Linked DNA regions of Homo sapiens: all the other regions are linked to region 3. Evidence: promoter capture Hi-C in 16 types of primary human blood cells and fetal thymus (Javierre and others, 2016). All regions are on one chromosome and are shown on one strand. Each heading gives the region's core, a stretch centred on a gene start or on the middle of the fragment in contact. The rest is flanking DNA. Distances are from core to core; before and after follow the strand shown.

Region 1 (3,305 bases), core at 348-2,847, 4.6 Mb before region 3:
ATACTGTAGATGCCCTGAAGAGGTCTAAGTGAAACTCCCACCTGTGTGGTTCCCTGGCCCACATGTCAAGAACCACTGGCTTACACTATTTTTTAACTAGCCAAGTGATGTTGGTTTTCCATTCATGATAATAACGACTTGTTTAAAAGGAAACTTTTGCTTTAAATAATCAGTTTAAAGAAATATGTTAAATTACAATACAGAGGGTATTTATGGGAAAAACGTGAATTTTGAAAACAATAAACAAACATAAGCTGCAAACCTACCCTCTACACTTATTTTATAATGAAATAAACTGCTAGACAGCTTTCCCTCACCTTATCTCTTTGCTGGCTTCTCCTAATGGTGAGGTCTTGGCTCTGTATGTCAACTCTTCAGGAAGGTGATTCTCTGCCACTTAGGTGGCAGATTAAAGGGCAATACTAGGAAACACTGATAGTAAGGAAGAACTTTTCTTCTCCTGAATTTTATAAAAATAAAATATCCATAAGGCACCTCTATATTACTATTAATCCACTCAAATATATATTGATTTCCTATTAAGTGGCAGCATTGTACAAATAATTTGTAAGACTCACAAACCTACTAAATAGATATCCTGTCTTTAAAGAGTTTGCATTCTGATTGGCAAAATTTTGACCAGTTAGGTATACAAAAATTTAGACTAGAAAGGTAGAAGTATTACAAGACAGAGTAGTCAAAATTCTAGGGAATAAAGATTATCCTCACTTCAGAGAAAGGGTGCCCTTTGAGGCTGACGTGGGTTGTAGGTCAGATGAAGAGATTTGGAGGTAGGGCACTCATTTATAAACAAAAGGCAGCAATTAGTTATAGGTTTAAATTGCTCCAAAGGTAACAGGCCTTTAAGAAAGTCAATATCATATTCTTAAGCAGGAGTCCCTGATGCTGGGGAAGGGGGAAAGGGTCACAGAAGTCAGCCTTGCTGGAGATCACCGGCCTGCGTATCTCAGGCCCACGGGGGTGCCCCACCGAGGCTTTGCCTCACCTGACCGTCCTGACCACGAAGTACACCAGCACCGCGCCGCTCACCACCATCAACACGGTCAGGGCCCGCTGGGTCATGGGCTTGTCGCCAGGGTTGGGGCTCACAGCAAGGCCGCCACCCACCGAGCCTTCCCCGGCCTTCCCTCCGTGATCGTCCGTCTCAAGCCCGGCCACAGGGTTGCTGCCATTGCCTCCCTCGGAGCCCCGCGGCCCCGCAGCTTCAGCCAGACCACGGCCCGGCTGCTGGGCAGGGGTAGGGCCCGGTGGCAGCGGCGGTAATGTCCGTGGTCTAGGGTCAGGAGGCCCAAGACCTGGCGCGGCCTCGGCTGCCTGCAGCAGGACTGCCAGGGGCCCGCTTAGTTCAGGCAGCAACAGCAGGAGGAGGACGGAAGCCAAGAGGTGGCTGAGACAGCAGCAGCACTGCGAGGCCTTCATCGTTCCCGGACCGCTCTCTCACCACCCGGGAGCCGCCAGGCCCGCCACGCTGGCTCCAAGAGGGACCATAGGCGCGGTGGAGAATGAAGCAGAGGTGACCAAACGCCAGGGAGAGGCCCGGTCGTGGCAGGTGGCAGAAGCTACAGCAGTGGCAGCTGCCCGGAGAACCGGAAGTTCGTACATCTCAGCGGCCACTGCTGCTAAGGACGCCTTCGGTTGCTAACTTGTAGGGGCGGATGCACTTGGTGACGTCAGAGGCCTAGCGCCCAGTGCGCACGCGCACTTGTGTAAAAAGCGAGGACGTGACCGTTTTGGAAGCATTGTTCTTTTCACTGTTAGTGAGGAGCGGTCAAGGATGCGTATTAAGAAAGTAAGTAGACAAAAAGAGATTGTGTAAAATGTACAGCAACTCTCTCATGCAGGAACCCTGAGAGATTGGAAACTCATAATCTGAATTCATTGGTGTCAAACTGCAATAACACATTTAATCTGTAAGCCAGAAGGGCTTAGTTTTCCTTAGCTTCATTACAAGCTTTAAGCAGGCTTTTTTTCCTGCCTATGGGTCCCTGACCTCCCTTTCTAAAGAGCATTTGCTTGTAATGAGTTCATGTCCTTTGTAGGCACATGGATGAAGCTGGAAACCATCATTCTGAGCAAACTATTAGAAGGACAGAAAACCAAACACTGCATGTTCTCACTCATAGGTGGGAATTGAACAATGAGAACACTTGGACACGGGATGGGGAACATCACACACCGGGGCCTGTCGTGGGGTAGGGGGGAGGGATAGCATTAGGGGATATACCTAATGTAAATGACGAGTTAATGGGTGCAGCACAGCAACATGGCACATGTATACATATGTAACAAACCTGCACGTTGTGCACATATACCCTAGAACTTAAAGTATATTAAAAAAAATTACTTTAGAAAACTTTACCATTGTAAGTTATTTCTCTTCCCTTTTCAGATGTAAATATTTTTTAAAGCTTCTGGCCAGTTATATAATTGAAAACTATCTCAAGGGTATGGAAAGCCATCATGCCTTTGAAATATAATCAGCAAGGAAGGTAGTGGGCCATCTCTTATTTTGTGTGAGAGGAAAGGAACCTAACTGTTGTAGGCTTCTCGCTTCAAGTTGTAAAACCACCTCCTGTCATGGAGGAGAAAATTTACTTTTCCTTTGGGTAAAGTCAATCAGCAAACTCAGGTGGCCGGTGATCTTCCCAAAATAGCTCTTAATAACTCTCCACTCCTTTTTTTCTTTTAGAGGAGTTGAGATTAGAAGAGTTTTATCCCCTTTCCCAACAGCAGTAGTCTTCAATAATGTCTTCCTTGCCTGTTTGACTTCAGTAATATGGAACTTCAATTTGTGCAGATAACTAGAAGTGGCCGCATGATGTACCTCTCACCAATGAGATGCCTGTCAAGGGTATACGTGGGTCTTTTGAGTAAGTTATTGTTTTCATTGCTAAAAGAGAGACAGATACAGGTAGATATATACAGAGAGAGAGCCAGAAACACACACACATGCATACACACACCTACCTCTCTCATTATTCCTTTCCCCCTTTCACTTGCCTGCCCTCTCTGCACAGAAAGTTCTGGCCCTAACCTTGAAAAGAATATGACCCAGCTAGTCCTCTGATCCTAGTAGACTGTGGGATATCTGGCGTAAACTATGACTAAACCTATAGCCTGGCACCAAATGCAGCCAAGGTTAGCTTAAGTTAGTCAACCCCAGCTTGACCAAAGAAGTGAAAAATAAATGCTTATTTGCTGTATGCCACTGATATTTCTATGGTTATTGATTATGCCACATTATTCTAGCAATAGTTGATTAAGAAGCTAGAATCAAATCATGG
Region 2 (3,416 bases), core at 710-3,209, 4.9 Mb before region 3:
CCCTTTGAGTGAGTAGGATTTGTGTCTGACTAGATGCTAAGTTTTATTCATCTTTGTGTTCCCATCTCCGCACACATTGCCTGCCCCATAACCATTGCTTAAGAAATAATGAGTTTAATGAAACGATGCATATTACTCTATCCCTGACAGAGAGTGATGTTTTACCTATAATCTAAAATATAGTTGTCTACTGTTTAAAAATCAAAGTTTATCCTTGAGAATTTAGCATCCTAACCATGCATCCCTCTCCCACCCGACCCCTGCCCTCAGCCCCGGATCCCTTTTAACTTAAATAAGAAGCTGTTTTATTCTGGCAGTTTTTGCCAGAAGAAAAGTGAGTCTAACAGAAGTCAATCTAACAGAAATGCATTAATGCAGGCTGGATTTGCCTAGACATCAATAAACTCGAAAGGCTCCCTGTGGGCCACTTGTAGTGTCAATAAACGTTCGTAATTACTTGCTCCTTGGAGCATTTTTATACCCGACCCCGTTCGCTGTGCTGCAAAGAGGAAATTCAAGATCTCGGAAGTTCTTAACTTCTTAAACTCTAGAGGAAGTATGGTAAACACTGGCGGGAACCTTGGGTTTTTAAGCAAAGATGCTGGCTGTTTTCGTTGCTATTTTAAGCTGTCAGGCGACAAGCAACTCAGAATTCCCCTTCTTACTTCCGGCGGGAGGGAAGATTGGAATTGGGCCTCATCATTTCTGAGCGTGAAAAACCGCTGAAGCTACTGTTCAACCTGAAGGAACACGGAATTCAACTGGAGAGAAACCCTGGCGACCAGGGAGCTGGGGACCGGCGCATATAGATGAGGGAAATCCTGGCTTCCAGACACTGTCTCATGCTAGAGGTGCCTCCCGACCTACCAGCCAACAGTAAAGACCGGAACCAAGGCGTGGTACTAGCAGAGTAGCAAGCATCTCTCCCAATGAGGGCAACGACTGGAGGATGGTGGAGAGGTACTCAGAGTGAACAATCGAACACAGAACTCTTGAAAAGTGTCCCTGCCACCCAATACAAGTACGAAAAATGGTGGGACGGAGGAGAGGTGACAATCAGAGGCTATATATATAATTGAGACTTTTAGAGAGGACTTTGCTCTTCCTTCCTCCCCTCCCTTTTCTTTCCTTTCTTTCTTTCCTTCCTTCCTTGGTATCCGAATGTGTGTGGGTGTACTTGCGTTTAAAAGAGAGGTCCATGGTAGCTGCTTTTTTTTCAGAACTCTGTTTCTCCGCAATGAAGTTTAAGTGGGATTGGAGTTTCCTTGACTTCTGCGTGAGGAGTTTCCAAATGGCAATGAAAGGGAGGCGCATAAATATCCATAAAGTTCCTAATGACACCTCTATCATCACTTGTTTCCTGCAGAATCCTGAGCCAGGGTCGTCGTCCACCACCCATGCAGAGTGGGCCCATCGGCTAACAGGTTCATGTGTGTATTTGCACTTTCCAGATTGAGTAATAAAAGTCTTCTTCCTTCCACCGCCGTCCCCACCCCCGCACCCCGTTTCACTCCACCTTGGAGGGCGTGTTTTTGCGTGTGAGGGTGTGTGTTTAGCAAAAGCGATTGAAAGAAGGTACTCTTCTTGCAATCCACCCCTAGCTCTACCTGAAGCATTCCTCTGGCGGGACGCTTTTGTAATCTGTCCCCAGGCGAGGTGCCCTCTCACCTAGATGCGGATAGACTATCTTGGAGCTCCCAGGTCCAGAGAGCTGATGCTTTGATGTCCCAGGAGAGTGTGTGTGATTCTGCGTGTACGTGTGTGTGCATATGTATGTATGTGTGTATGTATGTATATGTGTATGTGCGCGAGCTCGCAGGCGCGTAGCACTGTGAGCTTCCTCTCCCGGCACAGAGCAGGCAGAGCCGGGGACGTTACTCTCCAAGCAGCCTCCGCCCCCTCAGCCTGGTGATTGGCTTTGCGCAGCGTTTATCTCCTAGCAAGAGGGAAGGGCCAGTGACGCCCCCGAACCCAGCTGCAGAAGCTGCCGCCACCTCCAATGCACAAGGTGTCTCATCTGAAAAGAAACCTGAGCCCCAGGGAGGCGGCGCGGAGCGACCCTGGCAGAGCTGGCGCAAACAGGGCGAGAGGTCGCTGGGCAGCGTTCGAGGACCAGAGGGAGCTCGGCCACAGAAGACCCCAGTGATCTGATCCCGGGATCCCGGCTCCAAGCTCTCCTCGCATTTTACAGATTTCACCCCCGCGACTATCTCCCCAAAACGGAGCCTTTATATCAAGAGAAGGTGCGGGAGCTGGGGCAACCAGGACTTTCTCGGGCACCCAAGATGCGCTCCATTAGGAAGAGGTGGACGATCTGCACAATAAGTCTGCTCCTGATCTTTTATAAGACAAAAGAAATAGCAAGAACTGAGGAGCACCAGGAGACGCAACTCATCGGGTAAATGCAAAGCTTCATTTCAGGATATGACAAAAAGTCAAGCCATAAATGAAATGTGAATATAGAGGGTAGAGTGATGGTTAGGATAGCATGTGTGTTTGTTTGAGCTTGCGCGTGGTTAGTGTCATGAATTAAATAACAAAGGCTGTTGTTGAGATGTGCGTGCTTCTCTAAGCTGTTCCCAGTATGAGTTCAACTTGCTCTGTGTGGTTGTGGTGACAGTTGTGTTGGCCCTGGGTGCTCTCTCGCCAAAGGAGAAGTCACTGCAGAAGTGTCAACAAAGAACGTGTGTCCTTGTCCTTTTAATCTGTGGGCAGAACTCAAGAGAAATGTCTTTATTCACCAAACGGTTGCCTGTTTTCAATGTCCTATCACCTAAGGAGATACTGGAGATAGATGGTTTCTCGAAGGGCTGAAGTTAAAGCTTAGAAAGCAGGAAATAGGTATACTCTGTTTCTCTACTTTTTTTTTTTCTATTTGACGTTGGATAGATTAATGTGTTATAATTTGAATTAGAAACTCCAGTACCACTAAGGATACTTCCTTATTTGTTCTTCTACGGCTAAAACGCATGGGCGTCATGGTTACAGTTTTAGAAAGAAACTGGGTACTGTAGCTTCACACAGACTATATTTCTGCTATTTTTTTTAGTTTGTCTAGATGAGTTCAGACTCTCCCCCGCCCCACTAAGTTCTCTAAATATCACACTTCCTTCCACCCGCTGGCCTCTGTGTCTTTGAAGTTTACCCAGGAGGTGGTGCAACTTTGTGTTGCTGACATAGCTTGGAAGGCTTTTTCTGAGGATGTGAACCTGATTGTCAACTCTATTCAAAGTCCTGTTTCGGAAATCCTCCCTGTTCCGGTTTGGAGGCGTCCTCTATCAGAAACTACACACCAGCAGAGATGCCTGCCCAGTTTATATTTTTCTCTGACATTGATTAAAACAAAGAAAACAGCCCTTGCGTGTGTGTGTATGTGTGTGTGAGAGAGAGAGAGATGGGACTGCTAACACACACAC
Region 3 (3,620 bases), core at 749-3,248:
GAAAAGCAGTGGGATACAGGTTTTACTTGTTCCGGTCAAACCTCCCTTCCCCCTCACCTCCCAAATAATTAAGGCTTTAGCTATGTGCTCAGTCCTTTACTATCAAAAAAAAAAAAAAAAAAAGAGAGAGAGAAAAGAAAAGTTCAAGTACAGAATTATTTTTAGATTATAGTCCGCTTAGAGATGAACTATTTGAATAAGGTTTCTACTTTTGGAAAGCGGAGAAAACTAGGTAGTAAAGCCTCTATTTCCCTTCTAAGAGTAAACTTTTTAATCCAATTTGATGATTACCTTAATATCTCTACTACATGAATTTAAGATAACACTGTATCACTAAAGTAAATGAAATTAGCAAGCGTTAATCACGTCTTAACAGCTAGCCAATCTTAGTGGATTGAAATTAAGTCAATTTACAAACTGTTTTCCTGTGATGGAGTAACACTTAATACAGGTGTTTCCACTTAATCCAATTCATTCTGTAATTCACATTATACACCTACTATGTTTGAAGGTCTGAATCAAAAAGGAGTGTACCCGTACGGTGGGGAAGGCATTTATTGGGAGGGGAGGACATGGAATCATGGCCCTAATCCATTTAAAATAATGAAAAATACTGATTAAATATCTATAAACTTTCCCGGGGAATCCCAGTAGAACAGAACATGGTTTTATAAGCTGAGGGTAAAAACAAGCGTCTCAGTTTTTTTATTAAAAGAACTTTTTTAAACTGCCTTTCAACAGTTTGAAAGCTTTCAATGGTTTGTTTTATCTGGTGTTTCTGATCAACCAATTAATCCATCCTCTGACAGGAACCCATCTGTCAGTCTATCCACACACAATCTGAAAGGGACTCCAGATTAGGCTCCCTCTTTTAGCCACGCCTACACAGGAAGCATCCTGTGGATGGAATGGAAAGTATGCCAGGCCTTTGCACGCCCCTCACGCCCCCATCTCCTTCGCTTAACCTCGACAGCCTCTTACCTTTAAACCCTAGCTAGGTTTTCACACAGCCCTATCAAATAAAAAGGACAATACTCAAACTGAATTAGAGAATGAGAATTGTCGAGGTTTCTTTTAATTTAGATCAATGCCAGTTTTACTCTTCTTCTAGAGTCCTTTTTAAGGAGATATCATCCCCACCAGTTGTGATCCCAGAGAATCACAACAGGGCATGGCGTAGGAAAGACCTCGAAGCTCAATTCTCTATTATACCATGCCCACCATACGAAAGGCATTTAACCTCCCGCGTGATTTTGTCCTTAAGATGCTCCACAAGATCTAACACAACTCCTACATCTAAGAGTCGACTCACTAATTTCAAGGGTTTTTGTTTTTGTTTTTGTTTTTATAAGCTCTGCGTGTGGCACCCGATAACTTCAAGTTTAGAGTGAGCAGTTTCCTCCCAATGCCGTTTGCTCAACTACAGTACTAGGAGTTTTGAGGAGCAGCTCTCTAGCGAGTCCTCCTGCTGCGTCCTCCCCCACACGCACGCACCAAGTTCCACAGCTTCCGCAGCCGTCGGGGAACAAAGTCCTTATTTGGTCACGGCCATCCCCTTACATAGTGGAGGTGGAGATCCTCCTCTCCAAGGACCACCCGCGTAGGGCGAGATTCCCCAATTCTGACTTTTCACTACTATCCCCCACAGGGGCGGGGCTCCAACTCCAGGTAACCAGACCAGGCAACCTGGACTTCCAATTAGCAGGGGAGTCCCCAAGCCAGCCTGGCCAATCTCGGCCGGCTAGCCAAGACGACCAGACGTGACGTCAGACATGATTAAGTTGGCGCGTCACCTAGACGTCAGCCTCTTACCTCTCGGACGTCCCGTCCCAGGAGCAAAACTCTAGTGACTTTGGGCCCGCCCCCGTGAGAGTGGAGGGCGGCCGATGAGGGCGGTTCTGAAGGGAACAAGACCAATGAGACGAGCCCGGGGCGGGGCGCGGGGCCGGAGGGTGGGGCGGGTGGCGGCGGTGGCAGTCCGAGGTCTGGCTCCGCGCAGTATATGACAGTACGTCAGCAGCGGGATGGCCCTAGCAGTGGCGGCGGCTGCAGAAGCCCAAGCAGCCGCGGCCGCAGTGGAGGCTAGAGCCGGAGCGGCGGCGGCGGCGGCACCCCGGGGAGTTTAAGATGGCGGCGGGGGGGACAGGGGGCCTGCGGGAGGAGCAGCGCTATGGGCTGTCGTGCGGACGGCTGGGGCAGGACAACATCACCGTACTGCATGTGAAGCTCACCGAGACGGCGATCCGGGCGCTCGAGACTTACCAGAGCCACAAGGTGAGCGGGCCGGCCGGCAGGCTGGGCTCAGAGAGGCAGAGCGCACCCCTCACGGCCTGGCCGCGCCCGGGTGCGGGGCCGGCGGAGCCGTGGCTGGCAGCTGCTACCGTCAGCGCCCGCAGCGGCCAGGCAGGGCAGGGCCGGGCAGGGTGGCTGACGCCGCGGTCCCGGGCTAGCCTGGGCGTTGGGGAAGCGGGCAGTCGGGCGGCCCCTGGCGGCGGGGCCGAGGCAGCCGCAGCCCTGGGTCGGCTGCGCTGCCGCTGCGGGACTTTCCGACGGCCCCCGAGGATTTCCTGGCTTGTTGGGTCCCAAGGAGGGAGAGAGGCCCCGATAAGAGAAGTGAGATGACCACGCTACCCTCGGCGGGGAAGGAGGGTAGCGAGCAGCGTATGGGCAAGGAACCAGGGACGACTCGCGGGCACCAGCTGCCCGCGTTTTCCAGTTACATAGGCACGGTGGATCCTCAGAGACAGGACACAGGCGCTCCGCGTGTGGGGGTGGGACCTTGTATTCCCAGGGACTTGGGGACACAGGCGCTCCACGTATCAGGGGACACACTGTGTGCTCGAAGGGATGGGGACTCGGGCGCATGGTGAGGGGCACACGGTGTACTCATAGAGATAGGGACTTAGGCAGTCCGTGTAAGGGGGCGGCGCACACTGGAACGGCGGGGACACTGGCGCTTCGCGTACGGGGGGGGAGGGGACACACCTGCATTCCCAGGGACTCCGGGACACCGGCGCATCGCGTTACTGGAGACGCGCCGCGTCCAGGACGGACACAAACCAACACAGTGCCCTGGGGAGAGACCTGAGGACTCACGCACACTTAGCGCTCCCCGGGAGCAAGACATCGGGTTCTGGAGAGAGAGGTTCACGGACGCTCAACGTACCCGAAAAAGCTCCCGGCGTCTTGGGCTGACTCTGGGAAGTGTAAACGGGGAACGAGCCAGAGCCAGAAGGTGTGGGGAGGATACAATGCATCCCGGGCAGAGACTCGGGCCTCTCACCCCTCGTTTTCGAGAGAAGCCCATGGACACACACACACACATATACACACACACCCCTCCAGTACAGAGAGAGGCTCAGATAGGCGCACATACACTGTAATTGGACTACAAATCCAGACGCTTTCATGTTGGAAAAAAAATGGGAGAGACAGGGAAGCACCGAGAAGGGACGCGGTAACCAGGGTGCATGGGGAAACAGTTTATGGACATGCAGTACTGTGGGAGACCGGAGTGGATACATCGCGTGAGGGAGGGATATGCCATATGGGGGAACCTGTAACGTTTTACAGGAGAGGAGAGAGTCGGAAGGGAGATAGAACCCACGGGGCATCTTACA

What was found. The method cuts DNA at HindIII sites, captures the fragments that hold promoters and counts their contacts. A CHiCAGO score of 5 or more calls a contact.
Region 1: the fragment with the promoter of FAM174A here is called in contact with the fragment with the promoter of ELL2 in region 3 in 1 of 17 cell types (total B cells); the score reaches 5.5 in total B cells.
Region 2: a contact is called between the fragment with the promoter of ST8SIA4 here and the fragment with the promoter of ELL2 in region 3, in 6 of 17 cell types (total CD4 T cells, total CD8 T cells, activated CD4 T cells and 3 more). The highest score is 8.0, in total CD4 T cells.

What each region holds. Positions count from the first base shown.
Region 1 is chr5:100,533,666-100,536,970 of GRCh38, reverse strand. It overlaps FAM174A (family with sequence similarity 174 member A), which reads right to left and starts at 1,597. Exons shown (of 3, transcript NM_198507.3): 1 at 1,007-1,597. The coding sequence starts at 1,440. FAM174A-DT (FAM174A divergent transcript) reads left to right here and starts at 1,728. Exons shown (of 5, transcript NR_172939.1): 1 at 1,728-1,810; 2 at 2,819-2,891. RefSeq lists an enhancer at 1,339-1,638. The HindIII fragment of the contact is 3,135 bases long and covers 1-1,974 here.
Region 2 is chr5:100,901,825-100,905,240 of GRCh38, reverse strand. It overlaps ST8SIA4 (ST8 alpha-N-acetyl-neuraminide alpha-2,8-sialyltransferase 4), which reads left to right and starts at 1,959. Exons shown (of 5, transcript NM_005668.6): 1 at 1,959-2,398. The coding sequence starts at 2,286. It overlaps LOC107986437 (a long non-coding RNA gene), which reads right to left and starts at 1,833. Exons shown (of 2, transcript XR_001742825.3): 1 at 1-1,833. RefSeq lists enhancers at 557-796, 1,577-1,816, 2,302-2,871. The HindIII fragment of the contact is 2,860 bases long and covers 1-2,412 here.
Region 3 is chr5:95,960,229-95,963,848 of GRCh38, reverse strand. ELL2 (elongation factor for RNA polymerase II 2) reads left to right here and starts at 1,998. Exons shown (of 12, transcript NM_012081.6): 1 at 1,998-2,274. The coding sequence starts at 2,128. LOC101929710 (a long non-coding RNA gene) reads right to left here and starts at 1,848. Exons shown (of 5, transcript NR_130776.1): 1 at 1,813-1,848. It also overlaps a transcript of CAST not described here. RefSeq lists silencers at 1,442-1,909, 1,865-2,104, 2,175-2,584 and an enhancer at 1,389-2,146. The HindIII fragment of the contact is 3,633 bases long and covers 752-3,620 here.